Linked DNA regions of Homo sapiens: region 2 is linked to region 1. The links are contacts of gene promoters, found by promoter capture Hi-C in blood cells and fetal thymus (Javierre and others, 2016). All regions are on one chromosome and are shown on one strand. The core of a region is centred on a gene start or on the middle of the fragment in contact, and the rest is flanking DNA. Distances in the headings are between cores, read along the strand shown. Region 1 holds the start of ZNF821 (zinc finger protein 821). Region 2 holds the start of ZNF23 (zinc finger protein 23).

What was found. Contacts are between HindIII fragments. The CHiCAGO score rates a contact against its expected background, and 5 or more counts as called.
Region 2: the fragment with the promoter of ZNF23 here is called in contact with the fragment with the promoter of ZNF821 in region 1 in 2 of 17 cell types (naive B cells and fetal thymus); the score reaches 5.5 in naive B cells.

What each region holds. Positions count from the first base shown.
Region 1 is chr16:71,882,552-71,886,127 of GRCh38, reverse strand. ZNF821 (zinc finger protein 821) reads left to right here and starts at 1,946. Exons shown (of 8, transcript NM_001201552.2): 1 at 1,946-2,220; 2 at 2,855-2,917. RefSeq lists enhancers at 580-1,080, 2,921-3,120 and silencers at 1,661-2,420, 2,441-2,560. The HindIII fragment of the contact is 5,845 bases long and covers 1-2,617 here.
Region 2 is chr16:71,459,830-71,463,610 of GRCh38, reverse strand. ZNF23 (zinc finger protein 23) reads left to right here and starts at 1,364. Exons shown (of 5, transcript NM_001381984.1): 1 at 1,364-1,401. It overlaps LOC124903709 (a long non-coding RNA gene), which reads right to left and starts at 1,299. Exons shown (of 2, transcript XR_007065105.1): 1 at 319-1,299. RefSeq lists enhancers at 1,246-1,405, 1,676-1,765. The HindIII fragment of the contact is 7,082 bases long and covers 1-3,781 here.

The sequences.
Region 1 (3,576 bases), core at 697-3,196:
TGGAAGTCAAGGAGATGGAATAAGCTGCCCAACATTACATAATAATAATGCATCCAAGAAATTTCACTGGAGGCAAACTTTACCTGTTTGCTACTTTTCTGTTGAAAATGTCAACTAAGTCAGCTTTAAAGTGACATAATAAAGCCATACTTGTATCCCTCAGTCCAAACTGATCAAGAATTACTGTTAAATATAAAAGCCAGTGTGTATTCTAGGTTGTATTCTTACACAAAATAGTACAAACACTTGCGGGTTGGATGATAATATTCCATTTTCTGTCTACTTGGAAACTAAGTTTTTAAATGAAATTAAAATGTTTCCTTGACTGAAGTTAAACAACAATAATTGCTATCTAAGTATCCTAATCACAATAAATAAATGAGTGAATGATGAATGAGCTATTTATCACAGAATTGTGAAGGACCAAGATCCCTCAATGTAATCATTCTATTACATTGAACACAAGATGCAGACAATGAGATCATCTCATAAAAGATTTAGGGGAAAGACAATTTGCAAGAATGTTCTATGCAAATACCAGGACTTGTCACTTTATCAGCAAATGACAGCATCCTCGTTAGCCCTGCCTTTGTGCAGCCAGTAATCACGAAAAACATTTGCATGATGCTTTTAGCCATTTGTTTTACTTAACTGGCACAACAACCCTCGGAGAGTAAAGGCCAGGAATTATTGCATCATTATCCATTTGACATCTTAGGAAGCAGAGGCTCAGAACAGGGAAGTGACTTGCCCAAAGTCAACAGGCTGGTGGGTGGCAGAGCTGGGGCTCAAAGCCAGATCTTCTAATACCAGATCTCATCTTCTTTCCTCTGCATTCCCTGCTTCTCCAGGTAAGCGATGCCAGGGCAGGCTCAGGCATTCTAGAAGAGAGGAAGAAAAGAAGGCAACAGGAACTAGGAGAGAGAAGGACGTGGACAGGAGGAGGTGTTTGACTAGAAGTGCGTCCAACCAGGCCGGGCACAGTGGCTTACGCCTGTAATCCCAGCACTTTGAGAGGCCGAGGCGGGAGGATCACCTGAGGTCAGGAGTTCGGGACCAGCCTGGCCAACATGGTGAAACCCCGTCTACTAAAAATACAAAAATTAGCTGGGCGTGGTGGTGCACGCCTGTAGTCCCAGCTACTCGGGAGGCTGAAGCACGAGAATCGCTTGAACCTGGGAGGCGCAGGTTGCAGTGAGCGAAGATCGCGCCATTGCATTGCAGCCTGGGTGACAGAGCGAGACTCTGTCTCAAAAAAAAAAAAAAAAAAAAGGTCCAACGGCTCTCCATTGCCCCCAAACATCCCTCAAGTGACAACAGTGCCACAAGTTCCCCTGCCCCTGGGTCTGCAGCCAATGTTATTTTATCAGTTGAGAATCATGTCAGAAAATTAAATACTCAAAAGAAATCTCAAGATTTCCCAGCTCTGAGGTTCTGACAGCTGAACTTGGCCCCTCCCACCAAGGCCCGTGGTCACATTCAAAGCCTCGGGAGCCGAAGCCACCGCGAAGCGTGGGGGAATGAGGCGAAGAGGGTTTGTGACGGTGGTGGGGATCCGGGCTAAGGAGAGGGGGTGCCTGCGGCGGAGCTGTGGTTGGGGGTTGTGGGTTTTGTGGCTGAACTCGATGGTGGGGTAAGAAACCAGGATCGGGGCTGGGTAGGGTGGCGTTTACACGTCCAGGAAGGTCTGGGGGAGCTGAGCGGCTGAGACAGCCAGAGAAAGACCCGGGAATGGGCGAGGCGGGGGGTTCCGGAGCCCTGGAACGCGGGCGAGCCCCTCTCGGGCGCCCGGGATTGGGCGCTCCCCGGAGCCCCTCCTCTCCAGAGCCCCTCTCCTCAGGCCCCGCCCACAACGCCAGGCGCGCGCCGGGCCGCGGGGAAGGGGACCTGGCCGGCGCGGGGGAGGGGGAGAGGGAGGCTCGTGCACGCGCCTCACTAGCTGCGGGTGCGCGAGCCGCGCGCTCCCGCCGCCCGCGTCGCCATCTTTTTCCCCCTCCGTCTGTCTGTCTGCTGTTGGCTTTGTCCGTCTGCAGCGCCGCCCCTCGGCTCCCCGCCACCGGCTCGGCTCGGCCCGGAGCCCCTTCCGCTCGCCGGGGCCCAGTCCCGGAGCGCCCCGGCCCGGCTGGCTTGGGCTGCGGTCCCGGGTCCATTGTCCGGCGGTCCGTCTGTCCGGAGGCGGGGCCCAGGGACCCAGAGCGCAGCGCAGCGCCGAGGCGCCGGGTAAAAAGACCCCCTGCCCTCCCTCCGGGTCCGGGCTGGGGATGCGGGCTCCTCGCCCCCTCGCGGCCGCCGGCTGTTGGTCCTTTTGTCTGCACTGGGGAGAGGGCCGGGGGCCAGCTCCGGCCTAGGGGGGCAGCCCGGGCTCACCCTCCCCGCTTCCAACCCCAATTCCTCCCCGGCCGCTCCTCCTGCTGCCCCTTGGCGCTCTCGGGCGCGGGGCGCGGGGTGCGGGGCCGGGGGGCTTTTGCGCGGGCCGCGGGCACCCCGCCTCCTCGGGCCCCGGCGGGGACGGCCCCGGCGTCTGACAGCCTTGGGTGGAGCTGGGGGAGGGGAGGATGGGCGTGGGCGTGCAGACCGGGGGGTATCAGTCCCCGCGTCTGGGTCTCGCAGAAAAGCTTCTAAATTTAGATTTCGGAGATTGTGTTGTCTAAGGGTTTGTCTGAGCCGCCTCGGAAGACCTCCGGCTCTTGTCAGGCTCTTGTCTGGTAATTCCTGGGAATTTACCTGGGCTCATGCTTGAAGAAGCAGAGGGACCATCTCGGCTGATTAGACACGCCCCAGACCCAACCCCAGGGGTCAGGTGAACAGCCAGGCGGCTAAGTGACCAGCTTTCTTGTCCTCTCCTTTTTGGCAGATACAGATCACTTGGATTCAGTCGAGTTTGCTTTGCTCCGTGGGAACTGCACCAGAGCTGGAGGTGGGAACGCACTCTCTTTTCATCAAGCTGAGATTTCACTCGTTTTTTTTCTTGCCAAAGTCTGTGGTGTGCCCTAGACGCTGCAACCTAATACCTGTGGGAGAGCAGAGACAGTGTTCAGGGGAGACGTTGCACCTTCCCGAGGACTCTTAACCTTGCTCTGAAGACAGACAGAACTGCTTTCCTTTTAAAATGGAATCCCTTTAGACCTGAATCTCACCGTTTACCTGTCTTCCCAGCCCATGTTCAGGCAGCTATCTATTTACATTTTTGGTTTGGTTTGGTTTCAGGTTTTGGCTTGGAAATTGAGGCAGTGTTAAAAGTAAAACAAAATGAGTGACCTTTAGGGCTGTATGTCTCTGGGTTTTATTAGCTTTAACTGCCTATAAAACAAGTCATCTGGCCTCTGAGATCTTGCTTTGTGGTCAAGAGTGTCCTTTCAGCGCCATTTATTTATTTACTTATTGATTTTCAACAGCCCATGACCCCACAGGCCTGTTTTTGTGGGTGTTTTTGTTATTATTTTCGTTTCGTTGTGTGGGAGGGGACTGTAATTGCTTATTTTTCTCTTGATCACTCAGGTGTGAAGTCCCATTGGGTACCATCTGGTCAGTTCCCCATTTGGCCACTAGGAGGATTATAAGATGCAGCGGGCATTG
Region 2 (3,781 bases), core at 115-2,614, 420 kb after region 1:
GATACAGTGTCTGTTCCCTGCAGCCACCAGAGAAGACAGACATATAAATAAACTATCACCATTAAGTAAGTACACAGTGCTGTGATGGCACATAAATGAGTGTCCTGCCTTATTCTGGGTGATGAGGGAAGGCTTGCTTCCCATGCAAAATGGGATTTGAGCTCACACTTCCAGTAACAGTCAAGATGGAGGGTAGGAATGGGAAGGGAAGGGCATTCTAGATTTAGAGAACAGCATTTTTAGCATGTAGGGCTGAGGTAGAGTCAGGGAATGAATGGGAGTGATAAGAAGCCACAGAGGCAAGTGGGAGCCAAATACCAGTCTCCAGTGCAGCAGCGTTGGATGGATCAGAGCTGGAAGGAAGAAAAGCCCACATTACCAGGGTTAGGGGGTGTGTGAGGGGGTGGGGATTTTAAGGGTCGTCCAATCCAGTGGCATTTAGTACTGTCTCCCTTCCCCCAGGGCTCATTTTGGAATTTTATGGTAGGTATTTTGTTATATTTGGTGTCAGTGGTAACATTGCTACTAGCGTTGTGGATAGGAGCCAGGATCCTGCAATGTACAGGACAGTCCTGCCCACTGAAAAAATGTTCACACTTTCAAATGTCTTGCTGAACATTCAGGTAGGTGAAAATTCTATTTCTAAATTATCTGAATCTAAACCTGTTTTCTGGATAAACATGTATTTTTGCACAGTTTTAACATACACTGATCTTCCAGGAATGTAATTATTGTATAATCAAGAGACGATTGTCCTGTGTTTCATTCAGAACTTCACGAAAACATGTTTGCCATTTTGGATCATAATTTTGTGACTTTTGCAACAATGTAAGTCACAGCTTTGTGGCTGTGGCACTCAGACAACGTCTATGTGTAAAGGCGACCACCTTATTAGGTCTCCTGCAGCAGCCAAGACCAAACACATTGAAGTATGTGTTTTTAAACGACAGATGACGGTCCTCTTTTTTTTCTCTTTCATTACACTTAAGGCATAACATTAGTTTTTAATATGTAGGTGTGTATGTTATGTATGATTTTCTAGGCCATTATATATGAATATCAGGTCAGGAGAATAAGATGGACATTACAAACTATTTGTTAGAAAAAGGGGGCATTGGGTGTGACAGCGCGCCATCCACTGGTCCATTTCCAAGACTCCCACACGTGGCTGCACCTGCAGCTTCACCTCCCCGGGCTGGGTCCCCGCTTGGCTCTGATTCTTACCTGCCCCATTCCCCAGGGGTAACAGTCACCGTGGGCCAGACCCGAGCTAGCCGACAGGGATGCGGCCACAGCTGGCCGGGCGTGACCACCACCGAGGCGCAGCGACCTTGCTCCTAGAGAGGCCCGGCCGCCTGGTGACGCACTTCCGGCAGCGCCGGGGAGCAGTCCGCTACGGAGGTGAGTGCAGGGCTCCGGGCGCTGTGTGCCGTGCCCTGTCCCCCAGGCTCTGGGTCCGGTTGAGACGCACTCCCACCCTGGGTGCTGCAGGGTCTCCCGTGGCCTACGCTGCCAGGAGGCCCAGGCTGGGAGAGGGAGCAGGGCGGCGGCCCGGGGTGCTCTTCCGCGCTCCTCGACTCCAGCTTTGGTCTTTGTGGCTCAATAGCTTGCGCCCATTGGAAGGGGAAACGCACGTTGCTGTCCCAGCCACGAGGCCCTGAGCATTTAGCACTTGGTCGACGGGGGAAGATGTGTCGGTGCAGCTAAAAGATGGAATATTTGCGGGCGTGAAGCGGCCCGAGGTGATACCACAAGTCTTTTGACATGCTGAGGTCTGGCAGGAACATTAACCTATGTGCATCCCGAGTATGGACCGTGTGCTCCCAGGCTCCTGACATAGGGTCATGAATTAGGGCCGAGTGGGAGCGCAGAGCCCCTCCCAGTCACCCGGCAGCAGAAGCAGCCCGGCTTTTGGAGGACATTGTCTCCTGGAGCAGTGTCAGTCCCAAAAGGTAACTCAGCCCTGCTTCTCTCGGCTCAGGGTTGACAGTGACCTGGGAATGACTTCTACAACGTAATTACGAATTCACTCAGTTTTAGAATATATTTAGTAGTCTCAGAATCGCTAATTCATACCCCCATGAAAAGCAAATTTACTACCTAAAGTACAGTACTTGGATACAGGTCTTTTTGTCTTTACTCTTATGGTATTTAGTCAAAATACTGTTTTCCAAAGTTGCTTACCCCTTTTCTTTCCTACCACTTAAGTGTGGTTATGTTCACTGTAGTATAGTTAAGCACATTGGCTGTTCTTTGTATTACATTTTGGGTCCTCAATTTCACCCCATCCTTGCTGGTTTATATATTTATTTAAAATATATATTTATATGTTACATATATAGTAGTAAACATCCATGAACACACCACCCAATTAAGAAAGAGAAGATTGCCAGTACTGCTGAATTTATCAATGTGTTCCTCCTCCTCAACCCAACTCCCAGCCTCCAACCCCTAGAGGTAACAGTTATATTGACTTTTGTGTTAATTGTAGCCCTGTTATTTTAAAAAATAATTACATATGCATGTATCTGTAAGCAATGTACTTAAATTTTTTTTTTGAGCTTCATATAAATGGCACCATTGTGTGTATAAGTCATCTGGGACTCGCATAATTCAATGTTAAGTTTCCAAATTCATTCTGTGTGTAGCTTCTGGGTAATGTTCCATTGTAAAAACTGTATGAAAATTTATCGATGTATTTTCAATGGACATGTGGGTTGTTTTCAGTGTTTTGTTATTAAAATGTGCTGATAATATTTTTGTACGTACTTCCTACATATGAGAGTTTCTCTAGTGTGTAAGTTTTTAAAATTAGGCACAAATGTTGAATTATGTTAAACATCTTTGGCATCTGTTGAGATGGACAGTGTGTTTATCTTTCTTTGATTTATTAATGTGAAAAATATACTAATTAGTATCTTCGTGGGATAATCCTACTTACTCATGATGTATTTAATGAACTATTGGAGTCTATTCCTTGATAGAATTTTTGCATTAGAATTCATAAATGAGACTGGTCTGTAGTTTTTGCATCAGTATTGTGCTGGCACCATAAAAAGAATTGGGAAACTTACTTTGCTGTGCTCTGCTACGGTTTACATAGTGTTAGAATTACTCATTTCCGAAACATTGAAAGAATTTGCTCATGACACATCTGAGCTCAGTGTTTTGTGAGAGTTAGTTCTTCACTGGCCATCTTGGTTTAATTAGGTAAAAGTAATCAAGGATTATGTAGAAAATCTATATAATGTCATAACAGGAAAAAACCTGGAATCGTATTTAAAAAAAAAAACTATCCCCTTGGGAGGGAGCCAAGAGACCAAAGAATGCCTTGGACGAGTCCAGCTTGGCAAGTAGATGAGTTTATTAGGACTTACATACTTACTCCTGGATGGCAGCAGGACAGCTTTAGAGACCTGTGATGCCCCTCGTCTCTAAGTACTTTTTAGAGAATTTTCTGGCTGTTTGCCTACTGCATTTAAACGATGAGACTTTTCTTGGTAGGTTCTCATATACTTTCTAGGATGTTTACGTTCTTGCAAACACCTGCTCCTCTGCTGAGCCCCATGGTCTTGACTCACTGCCCGGTCTTCAAGGTTCAGGCAGCAGGTATACACCCTTGACTAGCTGAGCGGGGTAGCTATCACACTACATATGTAATTGGTAGAGTTGGTTTATTATCTAAAAATGGAGTTGTATATTCTCCCATCACAGAATAAGTTTTCTCTTTAAACACCAGATAATATATTTTTTTAAATGGACATGAGTCACAAAAAAACCC